Regions from separate parts of the Homo sapiens genome. Here all the other regions are linked to region 1. The links are contacts of gene promoters, found by promoter capture Hi-C in human tissues and cell types (Jung and others, 2019). All regions are on one chromosome and are shown on one strand. The core of a region is centred on a gene start or on the middle of the fragment in contact, and the rest is flanking DNA. Distances in the headings are between cores, read along the strand shown. Region 1 holds the start of CARD14 (caspase recruitment domain family member 14). Region 2 overlaps RNF213 (ring finger protein 213). Region 3 overlaps RNF213 (ring finger protein 213). Region 4 overlaps SLC26A11 (solute carrier family 26 member 11).

What was found. Contacts are between HindIII fragments. The study calls those that stand out against the background at their distance.
Region 2: a fragment that was not itself captured here is called in contact with the fragment with the promoter of CARD14 in region 1 in 3 of the 25 tissues and cell types used here (lymphoblastoid cells, mesenchymal stem cells and spleen).
Region 3: a contact is called between a fragment that was not itself captured here and the fragment with the promoter of CARD14 in region 1, in 2 of the 25 tissues and cell types used here (lymphoblastoid cells and spleen).
Region 4: a contact is called between a fragment that was not itself captured here and the fragment with the promoter of CARD14 in region 1, in 3 of the 25 tissues and cell types used here (lymphoblastoid cells, spleen and stomach).

The regions. Positions count from the first base shown.
Region 1 is chr17:80,168,187-80,171,897 of GRCh38, forward strand. It overlaps CARD14 (caspase recruitment domain family member 14), which reads left to right and starts at 1,844. Exons shown (of 24, transcript NM_001366385.1): 1 at 1,844-1,870. The HindIII fragment of the contact is 21,960 bases long and covers 1-3,711 here.
Region 2 is chr17:80,294,258-80,297,968 of GRCh38, forward strand. RNF213 (ring finger protein 213) reads left to right here. Exons shown (of 68, transcript NM_001256071.3): 9 at 463-746; 10 at 1,300-1,556. Among named protein-coding and RNA genes, the nearest start is that of RNF213, 35 kb to the left of the region's middle. The HindIII fragment of the contact is 5,200 bases long and covers 1-3,711 here.
Region 3 is chr17:80,269,736-80,273,446 of GRCh38, forward strand. RNF213 (ring finger protein 213) reads left to right here. Exons shown (of 68, transcript NM_001256071.3): 3 at 3,506-3,669. Among named protein-coding and RNA genes, the nearest start is that of RNF213, 11 kb to the left of the region's middle. RefSeq lists a silencer at 1,364-1,413. The HindIII fragment of the contact is 4,608 bases long and covers 1-3,711 here.
Region 4 is chr17:80,244,274-80,247,984 of GRCh38, forward strand. It overlaps SLC26A11 (solute carrier family 26 member 11), which reads left to right. Exons shown (of 18, transcript NM_001166347.2): 11 at 923-983; 12 at 1,881-1,936; 13 at 2,236-2,376. Among named protein-coding and RNA genes, the nearest start is that of RNF213, 15 kb to the right of the region's middle. The HindIII fragment of the contact is 7,646 bases long and covers 1-3,711 here.

The sequences.
Region 1 (3,711 bases), core at 594-3,093:
GCATTAGCTATTTGTCCTGATGCTCTCCCTCCACTCCCCCTACCATAGGCCCCAGTGTGTGTTGTTCCCCTCCCTGTGTCCATGTGTTCTCATTGTTCAGCTCCCACTTATGAGTGAGAACATGCAGTGTTTGGGTTTCTGTTCCCATGTTAGTTTGCTGAGAATGATGGCTTCCAGCTTCATCCATGTCTCTGCAAAGGCCCTTCATTCCTTTCTATGGCTGCACCTTGACTATTTCTATGGCTATTTCTGTTCTTAGGGAGGCTCCTCCCATCTCCAGTGCATTCTTCTGCCCCCCTCTTTTACTGGGAATGGCGGCATTTCTTTGCGTTTTCTGTAACTAGAATTCTCTGTGTGGCTGGCACAGTGTGATGAGCTGGCAAGCTTCCCCACTGTGGGGGAGGGCTTATCATGAGGTCTGCTGGAGGAAACTAAGAGAGCTGAGCCTTAGGGGCTTAAATGAACTGCCTGAGGGGAAGCTGACACCCAGTGGGGCTGTAACCCTGGTTGGAGAGTTCATGTCTGCACCTGGCCTCGGCCTGCGTTCTCACTTGCTCTGCCCAACTGGCTGTGCCTTCAGCCGGCTCATCACCAGGAGATTTGGGTTGGAGCTACTGCTCAGCCACCATGAGCTACATGACCTTGAAGGCCGATCTTTGATTGTCCGCAGGATAATCCTGAAGGTTCTCAGGCCATGGACCTGTGAATTTCCCTTCTTTCAGTGTCTGCATCATTGGGAACCAAGCCCCTAACCAATGTTTATTCATTCGCTCAACCAATATTTGTGGAATATCACAGCCCTAGGGGTGGGGACACAGCAGGGAACAAGAAAGACAAGAATTATTGTCCTCAGTAGGTTACTGTGGAGTGGGGAGGCTGGCAGGAAGCCACGTAACTAGAATACACGTTAGGTCAAGGCAGTATTCCCACAGAGAAGATGGAACAGGGAAGGGGAGTGAAGGCCAGGATGGGAGGTCTACGGACTTAAGTAGGATGATCTGGGAAGTAGCATTTGAGTAGAGTCTGGAAGGAGGGATGGGAAAGAGTGTTCCAGGCAGTGGGAACAGCAGGTGCAAAGGCCCTGGGGCAGAAGTGTGCCTGGACTGTCAAGACTGTTGGGCTGTGTGTCTGGAGCAGGTAAAAGAGAGATAAGGTCAGCAAGGACCTGATAAGCAGAGCCTCATGGTCACGCTGAGGACTCCAGGACCTGTACACCGAAGGGAATGACAGGAGCTGACTCATGCCCTAGCAGGACTTCTCTGTCTGCTGTGTTGAGCGCTGGTGATGGGGGCGTGGGAAGAAGTTAGGAGCCATTACAGAGGTCCCGGTGGGCCATGATCAGGACACCACAATGCAGGTGGTGAGAATGGATCGGATTCTAGACATATCTCAAGGTGGAGGACCAAGACTTTCATCTAAATCTAAACAATAGTTATGAAATGTTAACTTGAGATGGATCTATTGGAATTATTCAGATACTTCCAATAATGGATCATGAGAACCAAGAAAGGCCCTAGAATTTATCCTGATCTTCGTAGGATTTTCCCAAGGGTAGAAATGATGATGAACTGGGTGACCGTTCACAAAGGAGAGAGGATTCCCAGCCCCCAAGCCTGAAGCCTTCCCCTCAATCACCCTCAATCACCATCTTCTGTGGGTCGACCAGATGCACGGACTGTTCTCAGCCATCCCTGTGGTTCTTACGGCAATGTCTAGCTGTGGGACTGCACTGGTGCTTCGATGGCTCATAGAAGCCCCATATAAGGCACTGCTCCTGTGGGATGTGCCTGTCAAACCTGCTTGTCCACTGCCGTTCAGTTCAGCCAGAGATTGGGCCACATTCAGTCCTCGCTTCCCTGGGAGGGGGAAGGTAAGTGCGCGCAGTCCATCCGGCGAAGAGCAGGTCAGCCTACGGAGGGCTCAGCCTACGGAGGGGCTCAGCCGACACAGGTCTGATGGGGCCCGAGAGTGGTCCCAGGGGAGTGGGAGGGGCCGGCATCTTCCTCATCAGGAGTGGAGGAGCTGCCTTGTATGTGGACTAGAGAACAGAAAACGGCTTGTCTGTGTTGCTGGGTCAATCACTGGAACATTCTCTGAATGCTGAGTTCTGCCTTAAAACAGCATGGGTCATGCTAGATGAAAGGGATCTCTGTTTTATACTCTCATCTCTTCGCTATTGCCGTGGGATGAAAGACAGCAGAAGGAAGGTGTCTAAGTTCAGAACAAAGTGAGCAAGACCAGCTGGCTGCTGTTGGTAGCAGAGGCACAGCCAGCCTGTCATGGCACTGGGGGGCCGAGGTGAGCTGTGCCCCCTCCTCCTGGGCTTGTGACCCTCTGCCCCCCATGGGGTATGTACATGTGTGTGTGTGCGTGTGCGTGTGTGTATGTGTACATGCCTTCTTCCCTACTTCACTGGCAAGGGAAGAGACTGACACTTGGGTTAGGAGAAGGATGTTGACCTGGGAGGGGTCAAATAAGGAGAACCCACATCTTAGATGCTCAGGATTTTATGATCTTAGGCTCTTCTAGAATTGCTGTACAGTTAGATTCAGAGTTTGGAATTAGAGATCTCTGGGCCCTCCCCTCCCCTCCCGTCCCCTCCCCTCCCGTCCCCTCCCCTCCTCTCCCCTCCCCTCCTCTCCCCTCTCCTCCCCTCCCCTCTTCTCTCCTTTTTCAGAAGTCTCCCTCTGTCGCCCAGGCTAGAGTTGCAGTGGCACAATCTCGGCTCACTGCAATTTCTGCCTCCTGGGTTCAGGTGATTCTCCTGCCTCAGTCTCCCAAGTAGCTGGGACTATAGGTGCACGCCACCACACCTGGTTAATTTTTTTATTTTTAGTAGAGACAGGGTTTTGTCACGTTGGCTAGGCTGGTCTCAAACTCCTGACTTCAGGTAATCCGCCCATCTTGGTCTCCCAAAGTGCTGGGATTACGGGCGTGAGCCACGGCTCCTGGCGCCTTCCCATTCACCTTCCCCTTCCCCTCCCCTTCCTCCCTCCCTCCCTCCCTCCCTCCCTCCCTCCCTTCCTTCCTTCCTTCCTTCCTTCCTTCCTTCCTTCCTTCTCTCTCTCCTTCCCTTCCTTCCTCTCTCTTTCTTTTCTTCTTTTCTTTCTTTCTTTCTCTCTCTCTCTCTTTCTTTCTTTTCCTTTTTTTGAGCCAGGGTCTTGCTCTGTCACCCAGGCTGGAGGGCAGTGGCACAATCATAGCTCACTGCAGCCTTGAACTCTTGAGCTCAAGCAATCCTCCTGCCTTGGCCTCCAAAGTGCTGGGATTACAGGCCTGAGCCACTGTGCCCAGCCCTAAGGTTTTTTGTTTTGTTTTGTTTTGTTTTACTGTTAGGACTAACCCTTATTTACACTGGGACAAGTTACAAAGAAACTCCTGCAATTGTTAACTGCCATTGGAGACTACTGTAAGTTGCTTCATGGCAACTGCAGAAGGGACTAGTGACTTCTATTTAGCTCCACCCACTGATGCTTGAAGTTCAGTGTGGCTCTGGGGGCTCCAGAAGCCTGAGGGGCAGCTGGCTGGGGCAGTTGGCTGGGGTCTGGAGAGTTCTGCAGAGCCCCTGTCTTCAGCTGCTGGTGAGGCAGCTTTGGCTTGAGCTGCCCTGGCTTTCTGAGTTCAGTCTGATGGGAGGGCACAGTCAGCACCCTCAGACCCTCCTCAGGAGTCTTGTGAGGCTCGGGCAAGTCAGGGGCAGAGGGACAATCC
Region 2 (3,711 bases), core at 734-3,233, 130 kb after region 1:
ACCTTCCTCCAGGGGCTGTGTCCCGTTCCTAGTACAGAGGAAACCAACTCAGTGATTGACCAGGACAGTGCTCACTTGCTAGTGGGGGGATGCGGTTTCTGTATGACACATTCCACCTCCTTGTGATGATGTTTAAGGAAGTTGTTGATCAAGTTTGCTGAGCTACATAGTTAGAGATCCGTTGCAAGTCTCAGGCCCGCTGCATCCCATGACCCTGGGCTTTCCACTCATTACTGTGGGACGTCTAGGATGTCTGTTTGCACGGGGCTGGCCTCAGATGAGAAGTCAGTTGGAGGAGTCTGGCTGTCGTCAGTGTGTGGGTTTTTGCTTTTCCCTTCCTCCCTTCCTCTGCCCCATTTACTCCATATCTGTACCAGTCGTGATCAGCCTTCTAGGCTAGTGTCTAGGTCTCCAGGGTTTTGATGGTCTTAGGTAGGCTCTTGTTCCTTCTGTCCCTCTTAGACTGGCATCAGTACTATGACATAGTTTATATGAAGCCTCATGGGAGACTCCAGAAAGTCATGAACCACATCACAGACGGGCCGAGGAAGGACCTGGTGAAGGGGAAGCAGATTGCCGCTGCGCTCATGCTGGACAGCACCTTCAGCATCCTGCAGACCTGGGACACCATCAACCTGAACAGCTTCTTCACCCAGTTCGAGCAGTTTTGCTTTGTCCTGCAACAGCCTATGATTTATGAAGGACAGGCACAGCTGTGGACCGATTTGCAGTACAGGGAGAAAGAGGTATCAGGCTTGCCACCAGCTGCTCTACCTGCTGGGCAGGAGCCACACCTGACCTGCTAGTGGCCGGATGACCCCTTGACTCTGTGGGCCAGGTTGCAAATGGGAATGTGTAGAACTTTCCAGCCTTTTCTCCTACCACTGTCTCTTGGGATTTCTCTGCCCTCCCCCATTTTCCTCCTTTTACTGGTTGTAATCTCAGCCCCACCCCAGCACCAGTCCTGAGTCCTCCCCTGGCCTTGGAGGGAGAGTGGAAGGAACGGGGCACCCTCTGTCACTGCACCTTTACCCACACTGCGGTGCAGCCTGGGTGGGTTTCAGGCCGGCCTGGAGCTGTTTCTGAGCTGAAGCTGAGCCCTGATGAGCCTCAGGGGCCCTGCCTGAGCCCTCATGCCAGGGTCTTGGCTGCACTGCAGCTCCTCCTGTGGCTCTCACAGGTGTGGTGGTGGGGCACGGATGGGGTCTGCTGCCCTAGCTGTGGTGCTGGGGCAGCTCTGGACACTGCCGGTGAATTCAAGTCCATGGTTCATGCATCTTCCTCTTCTCCCACCATCAGGTGAAGAGATACCTGTGGCAACATCTGAAAAAACACGTGGTACCATTGCCGGACGGAAAAAGCACGGACTTTTTGCCTGTGGACTGCCCAGTGAGGAGTAAACTGAAAACAGGCCTGATTGTCCTTTTTGTAGTGGAAAAAATTGAGCTTTTATTAGAAGGCAGCCTGGACTGGTTGTGTCACCTCCTAACCTCAGATGCCAGCTCACCAGATGAGTTTCACCGTGACCTAAGCCACATCCTTGGGATACCTCAGAGGTATTATTATTTTTTGTCAAAATGTTTTTTATAGCTATTATAATGATTTTCTCTGATTGCAAAAATAAGTGCTTGACTAGAGTGACTGAAAGCACACAGGCAAGAAATAAAACCACCCGTGATTTTACCACTCACTGTGGTCATGTCAGTAGTTTTTCCTAGCATCTGTCTTATTTTTATTATATTCTGTCCTCTGTTGAATTCCCTGCCTTTTGTTTTCCCCCCAGACGGCGTCTCACTCTGTGGCCCAGGCTGGAGTACAGTGGCGCAATCTTGGCTCACTGCAGCCTCCACCTCCCAGGTTTAGGCAATTCTCCTGCTTCAGCCTCCTTAGTAGCAGGGACTACAGGTGCACACTACCACACATGGCTAATTTTTGTATTTTTAGTAGAGAAGGGTTTTCACCATTTTGGCCAGGCTGGTTTCGAACTCCTGACCTCAAGTGATCCACCCACCTCGGCCTCCCAAAGTGCTAGGATTGTAGGCGTGAGCCACCGTGCTGGGTCTGAATACCCTGCTTTTTGAAGCTTCGTGTGGTATCATGAGCAGCCTCTGTGTGCGCGTGTTTAGGAGGTTGTGGCGTGACGCCAGCCTGAACTCATCCCCTCAAGGACATCTGCAGAAGCAGCGTGAATGTTCTCCCCATGCCCCTGCCTGTGCCGTGTCTAGTTCAGGAAACACAGTGTGACTGTCCTGGGCCTGAAATGTTCAGTGGTGAGAAGGCGATGGCCTTTGACTTGGTACCTGCTCAGACCCCACTGAGCTCTGCACTCTCTCTGCGTGTGTTGATTTGAACGTGAGAATGACATTAGGTAGCCTTTCCTGACCAGCATGTCTTATCACGACATCTGCCTCTCAGTTTTACACATTTATTTATTTGTTGTTTTGAGACAGTGTCTTACTCTGTTCCCCCAGTCTGGAGTGCAGTGGAGCAATCAGCTCACTGCAGCTTCAGCCTCACAGACTCAGGTGGTTCTCCCACCTCAGCCTCCTGAGTAGCTGGGACTGCAGATACACACCACCACTTCCAGCTAATTTTTGTATTTATTGTAGAGACGGGGTTTCACCATGTTGCCACGGTGGTCTTGAGCTCCTGACCTTGTGATCCGCCTGCCTCGACCTCCCAAAGTGCTGGGATTATAGACATGAGCCACTGTGCCTGGCCTGGTTTTACAAATAAAAAACAACCAAATAAACGCCGCACATTTTGACAAAGAGGAGGAGTGGAGGCAAAGGCAATGTACAGAGTTAGTGCCGGGGCTTAAAGTATGAGGAATCATTAATATCTTTTGACTGTAGGAGATTCACCATGTATTGTTTATAGGCTCAACCCTTACGTTTAAAAAGTTGTTTTGGGGCCGGGCACGGTGGCTCACGCCTGTAATCCCAGCACTTTGGGAGGTCGAGGCAGGCGGATCACAAGGTCAGGAGTTCGAGACCAGCCTGACCAACATGGTGAAACACTGTCTCTACTAAAAATACAAAATTTAGCCGGGCGTGGTGGTGCATGCCTGTAATCCCAGCTACTCAGGAGGCTGAGGCAGGAGAATCACGTGAACCCAGGAGGCGGAGGTTGCAGTGAGCCGAGATTGTGCCACTGCACTCCAGCCTGGGCGACACAGTGAGACTTCATCTCAAAAAAAAAAAAAAGTTGTTTTGGCCGGGCATTATGGCTCACACCTGTAATCCCAGTGCTTTGGGAGGCTGAGGCAGGAGGGATTGCTTGAGCCAGGAGTTCAGGATCAGTCTGGGAAACAAAAATTAAAATAAAAAATAGAGCCGGCCAACACAGTGAAACCCTGTCTCTACAAAAAATACAAAAAACTAGCCAGGCATGGTGGCGGGCACCTGTAGTCCCAGCTACTCGGGAGGCTGAGGCAGGAGAATGGCGTGAACCCGAGAGGCAGAGCTTGCAGTGAGCCAAGATCGTGCCACTGCGCTCCAGCCTGGGCAACAGAGTGAGACTCCGTCTCAAAAAAAAAAAAAAAAAAATGTAGCTAGCTGGGTGTGGTGGTGCACCTGTAATTCCAGCACTGGAGAGGCTGAGGCAGGAGGATCCCTTGAGCCCAAGAGTTCGAGGTTATAATGATCGCACCACCGCGCTGCCTTGATGACAGAGTGAGACTCTGTCTCTAAACAATGAAAATAAATTTTA
Region 3 (3,711 bases), core at 806-3,305, 100 kb after region 1:
CTATCCATCCCATCTTATCTATCCATCCGTCCATCCATCCATGTATCTACCTATCTACCTGTCTACCTACCTACCTACATATTCTATAGTTCTGCTCTCTGGATAACCCTGTTCTATACTGTGAGTATTTAATGAGTTAACATGTACATTGTTTAGGAAGTGCTAGTTAAGTATGTCTCTTATTTCTGAATCCAGCTACTTACTTTTATGACAATAAAAATGTAAATGCTGGTTGGCAAATGACCCACATGTTACAGGAGGACATAAAATAGCACGAAGTTTCCTCACCCTGGGCCAGGACTGTCACATTCCCCAGAGCAACACTGTAAACTGGTGTGTCCTCTTCTAGACATCTCCTCTGCGTGAATGTGTGCGCACACACACACACGTTAATGTGAGTGGCAGCTCGTGCCCTGCGCATGCCTTGCTACTTTCATGTACAGTGGCTGAGGCCTCTAGTGGAGGACGGACCTCAGCAGCCTCCCTGGCTCTGCCACCCAGCAGGGCCTGACTCAGCAACAGGCCTATCCTGGGCACTTCCCTTGTCCTGCTGTTTTGCCGTGACATAGGCTGCTAGGCTGCATGCTTGCACGGAGACCTTGCCCTCTGAGCCAGGCTGGCCGTCTGGAGGACAGATTCCCAGCCACTAGCCTGCTGGCTTCAGGCTGGCACATTTACAATGCAAATCTCTTCAAATCCCCTGCACAAAGCTTCTCTGGCCACTCACTGGCCGCGTCTCTGTGCTCCCTGCCTTCTAGATTTCTATTCAGATTCTCTCCAGCGTTCAGAATGATGGATCTTGTCAATCTGTGCCGGTCGTTGGGTGGAAATGGCACTGCAGGGCCTCCGTTCTGATTTCCTTCATCAGTAGGCATGGCAGGCATCTCTTTGGAAGTTAAGAGACCACATGTATGTGTATTTCCTTGAGCGGCCTGTCTGTCTTTAGGGAAGCTCGTTTTGCTTTGGTTGGTCCTTATGATTGTTGGGACTGTTTATACTGGGAACAGCCTGAAACCCAGCTCTCCTAGGCTTGCTCAGCAAGAGAAACGTGCTGGGTCACCGTTGCCCAAGTCCAGGCTTGAGGGGTTCAAGTGTACTAGGGCTTTGCTCCATTTCTCTGATCCTGACAGCTCTGCCCTTCTCCACTGCCAGCTTTGTCTGCAGGTGGAGGAGAACAGACAGTGGTTTCCCAGCACCACCTCATGGTCTTTCCAGGATGCACTGAGTGGCAGAAACCCCAGTAAGGGTCCAGAAGTATGGATGCTTCCATACTTCTTGCTGGTTGGCCCTTCCCTTAGTCAATCACTAGTGCCAGGGTAAATATCGGCCCTGATTGGATTAGGCTAGTCAGGGCCCGCCCCTGGTGGGAGGGTAGGTTGGTGGGAGGGTAGGTTGGTGGGAGGGGCAGGCTCAGAATCCCTGGTTGTAGGTGAAACAGCAGCTCTCGAAGGATGGGGCCTTGGGTCGCCTGTTGCAGATCTTTCTCCAGCTCTTACTTTCTGGCTGTGATGTTTCATGTGTGTCTTATGTATGTAGACGTTTAGAGGATTTGTTATCAATTTTGAGTCCTGCTAAGGAACTTCACGAATTCTTGAGCTCTTGGCTACGCCAACACTGAGTACTCAAAGGGAAAAAGGTCTGCGTGGTCCCTGCCCTCCAGATCTCAGAGGAGGAGAGGGCAGTGACGAAACCAGGTGCTGGAAACGGGCGTGGGGATGAAGTGTCCAGACAGGGGCGCAGCTGGGACTGGCTTGGGGCCTTGGAGAAGGGTCTGTGGGGATCAGGCAGAGGGAAGGTTCTGTACAGAAAAGCAGGCTTGGCCTGGCACCATCTGGAGTGTGTGTCAGGGAGAGGTGGGGTCGTCCAGACCCAGGATTGAAAACAGGGACTCCTTGAAGGGTGTTTTCGTCCATTTTCTGTTGCCATAAGAGTACCCGAGCCTGGGTAATTGAAAAAGAAAAGGCCGGGTGTGGTGGCTCAAGCCTGTAATCCCAGCACTTTGGGAGGCCGAGGTGGGCGGATCACGAGGTCAGGAGTTCAAGACCAGCCTGACCAACATGGTGAAACCCCGTCTCTACTAAAAATACAAAAAAAATTAGCTGGGTGTGGTGGCGCATGCCTGTAATCCCAGCTACTCCAGAGGCTGAGGCAGGAGAATCACTTGAACCCAGGAGGTGGAGGTTGCAGTGAGCCGAGATTGCACCACTGCACTCCAGCCTGGGTGACAGAGCGAGACTCCGTCTCAAAAAAGAAGAAAAAAGAAAAGAGGCCGGGTGGGGTGGCTCACACCTGTAATCCCAGCACTTTGAGAGGGCAAGACGGGTGGATCATGAGGTCAGGAGTTCAAGACCATCCTGGCCAAGATGCTGAAACCCCTGTCTCTACTAAAAACACAAAAATTAGCCGGGTGTGGTGGCATGCACCTGTAATCCCAGCTACTTGGGAGGCCGAGGCAGGAGAATTGCTTGAACCTGGGAGGCAGAGGTTGCAGTGAGCCAAGATTGTGCCTCTGCACTCCAGCCTGGGCGACAGAGCAAGACTCTGTCTCAAAAAAAATAATAAAATAAAATAAAAAAAGAAAAAGAAAAAAGAGGTTTATTTAGCTCACAGTTCTGCAGACTGAGAAGTTCAGGGCCTGGCCCTGATGTCTGGTGAGGGCTTTTGTGCCACATGGCAGAGTAGGCCGACGGGGATGCTGACAGCTGTGAAAGACTAAGCCTGATGGGACATCTTGACTTCATAACAACCCACCTGGCGGGTGCTAATCCATTCCCGAGGGGAGTAAACAAGCCTCTCAAGAGTAAACCCATGACCGCAAACGGCACCAAGCCATTCGTGAGGGATTTGCCCTCACGACCCACAGACCTCCCCGCAGCCCTGCCTCCCAGCACTGGCATACTGGGGATCAACATGAGTTTTGGTGGGGATGGACAAAGTGCGTCCACACCACAATGAAGGCTAGAGTGAGTGTGGGGCTGGCAGAGTGGGTGCTCCATGCTGTCTGCATGGCAGCTCTGCATGGGTGAGAATCTGGAGGCAGAGCAGCTGGGCGGGCAGATGCCTTAGTGCCAGGACAAGGGAAGCAGTTTGAGACCCCTGGGCCGCCACTGGGAGAATGCCCACCCTGGGGAAGACAGGAGGAATGTCTACAGTAGGGGAGGAAAGCGTAACAGGCTCTGTTTTAGAGGTGCCCGAGGTGCGCTGACATCCTAGTACAGAGTCAGGTGAATCCACTCGTGGACATTGGGAGGAAGAGGCTGGATGCTAGGACGGCACAGTCTTTCTGTCTGATTCACCCCTTGTTGTGCTGAAACTGGGGTCCCTGGTTCCCTCCTACCCACCTGGAGCAGAACCCCTACCCTGCTCATGTTAGCAGGCCCAATGCAGGACCTCGGAGGGAGAACAGGGTGAATCTCTCCATGCACTCGTGGGGAGGATTTCTGTTTTTCCTTCCTAACACTCGCTTCTCTCTGAGATCTGACCCTTCCTTCATCTGCCGTTACAGATTCTGAGAACAATAACTCCACAATGGCGTCGGCCTCGGAGGGTGAAATGGAGTGTGGGCAGGAGCTGAAGGAGGAAGGGGGCCCGTGCTTGTTCCCGGGCTCAGACAGTTGGCAAGAAAACCCCGAGGAGCCCTGTTCCAAAGCCTCCTGGACCGTCCAAGAAGTGAGTGCACTGCCTCGGCTCCCCTCCGCCCCCGCTCACTCT
Region 4 (3,711 bases), core at 1,209-3,708, 77 kb after region 1:
CGTGGGCTTTGTCTGTTGTAGGCAGCCGGCATCACCTGGGGAGGCAGCATACTGGCCATGACCTTGGCCTCACTGTGGCTGTCATCTCGTGAGACGGAAAGGAACTGGGTGGAGAACGGTGGGCAGCCACTGACCTCCCGAGTACCTAGGGTTTGTCTTACGGGCACTTTATCTCAGCTCTCACCCCCTCCTGGGTGGTGAGATGCTCCCCTCTGTTCTGCGTGGGGAAGGCGTGTCCTGGTCACACAGGAGAGGCTGGGTGAGAAGTGTTTGAAAGCTAGGATCTTGCCAGGCATGGTGGCTCACTCCTGTGATCCCAGCACTTTGGGAGGCTGAGGCGGATGGGTCACCTGAGGTCAGGCATTTGAGACCAGCCTGGCCAGCATGGCAAAACCCTGTCTCTACTAAAAATAGAAAAATTAACTGGGTGTGGTGGCACATGCCTGTAGTCCCAGCACTTTGGGAGGTCGAAGCGGGTGGATCACTGAGGTCAGGAGTTTGAGACCAGCCTGGCCAACATGGCAAAACTCTGTCTGTACTAAAAATACAGAAATTAGCCAGGCGTGGTAGTGTGTGCCTGTAATCCCAGCTACTCAGGAGGCTGAGGCAGGAGAATCGCTTGAACTGGGAGGCGGAGGCTGCAGTGAGCTGAGATCGCGCCACTGCATTCCAGCCTGGGCAACAAAGCCAGACTCTGTCTCAAAAAAAAAAAAAAAAAAAAAAAGGCTAGGCTTTACGTCTGCAAGAATGTGGCCTGTTTTCTTCCTTCCCTGAAGGAGTGCGTAGGCCCAGGCCCCCAGGATGATTCTCCCGAGCCCTGCCTTCCTGCCTCCCTTCTGGGTTTTTGTCCCCCTCCCCATCTCCTTTCCCTCCATCCTGTGTGCCTTCCCTCCACGATCAGCCTGTCTTGCCTCCTCCCCAGGTCTCACCAACATGTTGGGCTCCCTCGTCTCCTCCTACCCGGTCACAGGCAGCTTTGGACGGTGAGTGACCTGTCCGCCTCTTCTGTTTGCCCACGTTGGACGCCCTAACGTTGTTACGCTGACAAGGAGTCTGCCTGCCCTGACCCCGGCGCCCCGTCCTCCACTGTGAACGCTCCGTGGAGAGGCAGGGCTGGGGGTCACCCACTGTCCTCCAGGGTGTTCTCTGTTTCTTTATTCTCATAGATCGTCCTGCAGTTTCATACTAGAAAGTTCCACTGGGCATTGTGGTACACCCTTGTTATCCCATTTACTCTGGAGGCGGAAGCAGGAGAATCGCTTGAGCCCAGCAGGATGAGGCTGCAGTGAGTTGTGACCGCACCGCTGCACTCCAGCCTGGGCAACAGAGCGAGACCCTGTCTCTAAAATAAATACTAGAAAGTTCCCAGCACGCCAAAGCCCTCCTAGCTCCTGGTGCCAGAGTCAATTCCTGAAAGGACGTGGAGATAGGAAGGGCCTCGGCTCTGTCCTGAAGCAGCCGGGCATGAAGCTTAGCCCAGATGCCCTACGGCCCCTCCTCAGTCAGGACAACAGGATGGAGGTGACCTGTGGCTTAAAGGAGAGAAGGAGGCGTCACCTGGCACTGCCCAGTCCCCCAGCTGGTGACCCTTGCCCTGCTGGGTATGGGGGCCCCACCTGGATGGGGGCAGGAGACAGAGTCGGCAGGAACCTGAAAGGACACGTGCTTCCTGAGCTTCTTCCTATAGTCAGGGTGGCCCAAGCGCGGCTGTCTGTGACTGCACCCTAAGTCTCTTTGCCTCGGTCCCCTTGCAGTCCCCGCCTGCTTCCCAAGCCGTGCTGGGAGCTGACGTCCCCTCGGAAGATCAGCCACAGGAGTGTGGACTGAGGTCTCCCTTTTCCCGGCCCCTGGTGACTGACGGTCTCTGTGTTGCCTTCCAGGACAGCCGTGAACGCTCAGTCGGGGGTGTGCACCCCGGCGGGGGGCCTGGTGACGGGTAAGGCCCCCCATCTTCCCCTTGTGCCCGCAGCCCTGAGAGTGGGAGAAAGGGAGGAGGGGGCCCACAGAGACGTCCCTTTGGCTCATGGGCCGTGCGCCCCGGGACTGCACAGGGACTTGGGGGGCCACACAGGAGTAGGGGGACCACAGGAGACTGAGCAGGGGCTGGGGGCCTTGGCAGTCGTCGCCCTACCCCCACCCCTGTCCCCAGTGGGCTCTGCTGAACAAGAGGCTGCTACGCTGCGTGCTGGGGGGACCCTGCACTCCCGAGGTCACCTGTGTTCCCGTGCCCCGCAGGAGTGCTGGTGCTGCTGTCTCTGGACTACCTGACCTCACTGTTCTACTACATCCCCAAGTCTGCCCTGGCTGCCGTCATCATCATGGCCGTGGCCCCGCTGTTCGACACCAAGATCTTCAGGACGCTCTGGCGTGTTAAGAGTACGTCCTTGTCCTACAGGGGAGAGCGCTGTGATGCGGTGTCTGAACGCGGAGGGTGTCATTTATGCTACCCCATTTTCCTGCAGCCCCCTCTGTGGGGCTGGGACTGGGAAGTTAGGGCAGTCCCGGAACAGAGAAGTGGATGGCCAGGAGATGGCCCCAGAGATGGTCCCGAGGCTCAGTGGGAAGAGCTGGAGCTCCTTGTCCTGACACCTGGGGTCTTGAGGCGAGCACTGACCCGGGGGAGGGTCCCCTCCTGATCCCCCTGCCCCCATCCCTACCCTCCTTGCCACCCGCCTCCAGCCACCACTCTGCCCGGCCCAGCTGGGGGAGGGACAGGAGACGTCCCTGGTGACCAGCAGGGCCAGCGGAACAGCCTTGCACCCTGGCTCAGAATGGCAGTTCCTTTTTTTTTTTTTATTATTATTTTTATTTTTTTTTATTGATCATTCTTGGGTGTTTCTTGCAGAGGGGGATTTGGCAGGGTCATAGGACAATATGGGGTTGGGGGTAAGGTCACAGATAACAGGATCCCAAGGCAGAGGAATTTTTCTTAGTGCAGAACAAAATGAAAAGTCTCCCATGTCTACTTCTTTCTACACAGACACGGCAACCATCCGATTTCTCAATCTTTTCCCCACCTTTCCCCCCTTTCTATTCCACAAAACCGCCATTGTCATCATGGCGCGTTCTCAATGAGCTGTTGGGTACACCTCCCAGACGGGGTGGTGGCCGGGCAGAGGGGCTCCTCACTTCCCAGTAGGGGCGGCCGGGCAGAGGCGCCCCTCACCTCCCGGACGGGAGCAGTTCCTTTAACTTAACACATTTTGTTTTGTTTGTGGAAGAAGCATGGAGTGGGTTCACCTAGCTTACTTGGCATTTTCTGGTTAGCCCCAGCAAGTTGCCAGGTGAAAGGATGGATAATTTTCTTGCATGCCCGTCGCATGCCAGGGCCTTTCGCGTGCCAGTGCGCTGGGGCTTTAGAACAGCCCTGAAACGTGTTCATGTGCCGGCGTGGAATGGGATGGCCGCTGCTGCTAGAAACCAAGGCTCAGCCAGGGTGGGGCAGGCCTGACCTATGCGTGCGGTGGAATCCCCCACAGGGCTAAGCCCGTGCACTTTGTCCCCAGGGCACCTTCTCCTTGGCCAGGTCTCAAGGGCTCACGTGGTCCCTGCCCCACTCCTCAGGCCAGCTCTGTGCCCTGACAAGCCCCTGCTGCTGCCCTCCCTGAGGTTGGAGGCCAGGGACCGGCCGGCAGGTCTCACCTGCGCTCAGCTCAGATGGGGAGGGCATTTCTTTCTTTCGACTTGAAGCATGGCCTGGTCAGCAGCTGC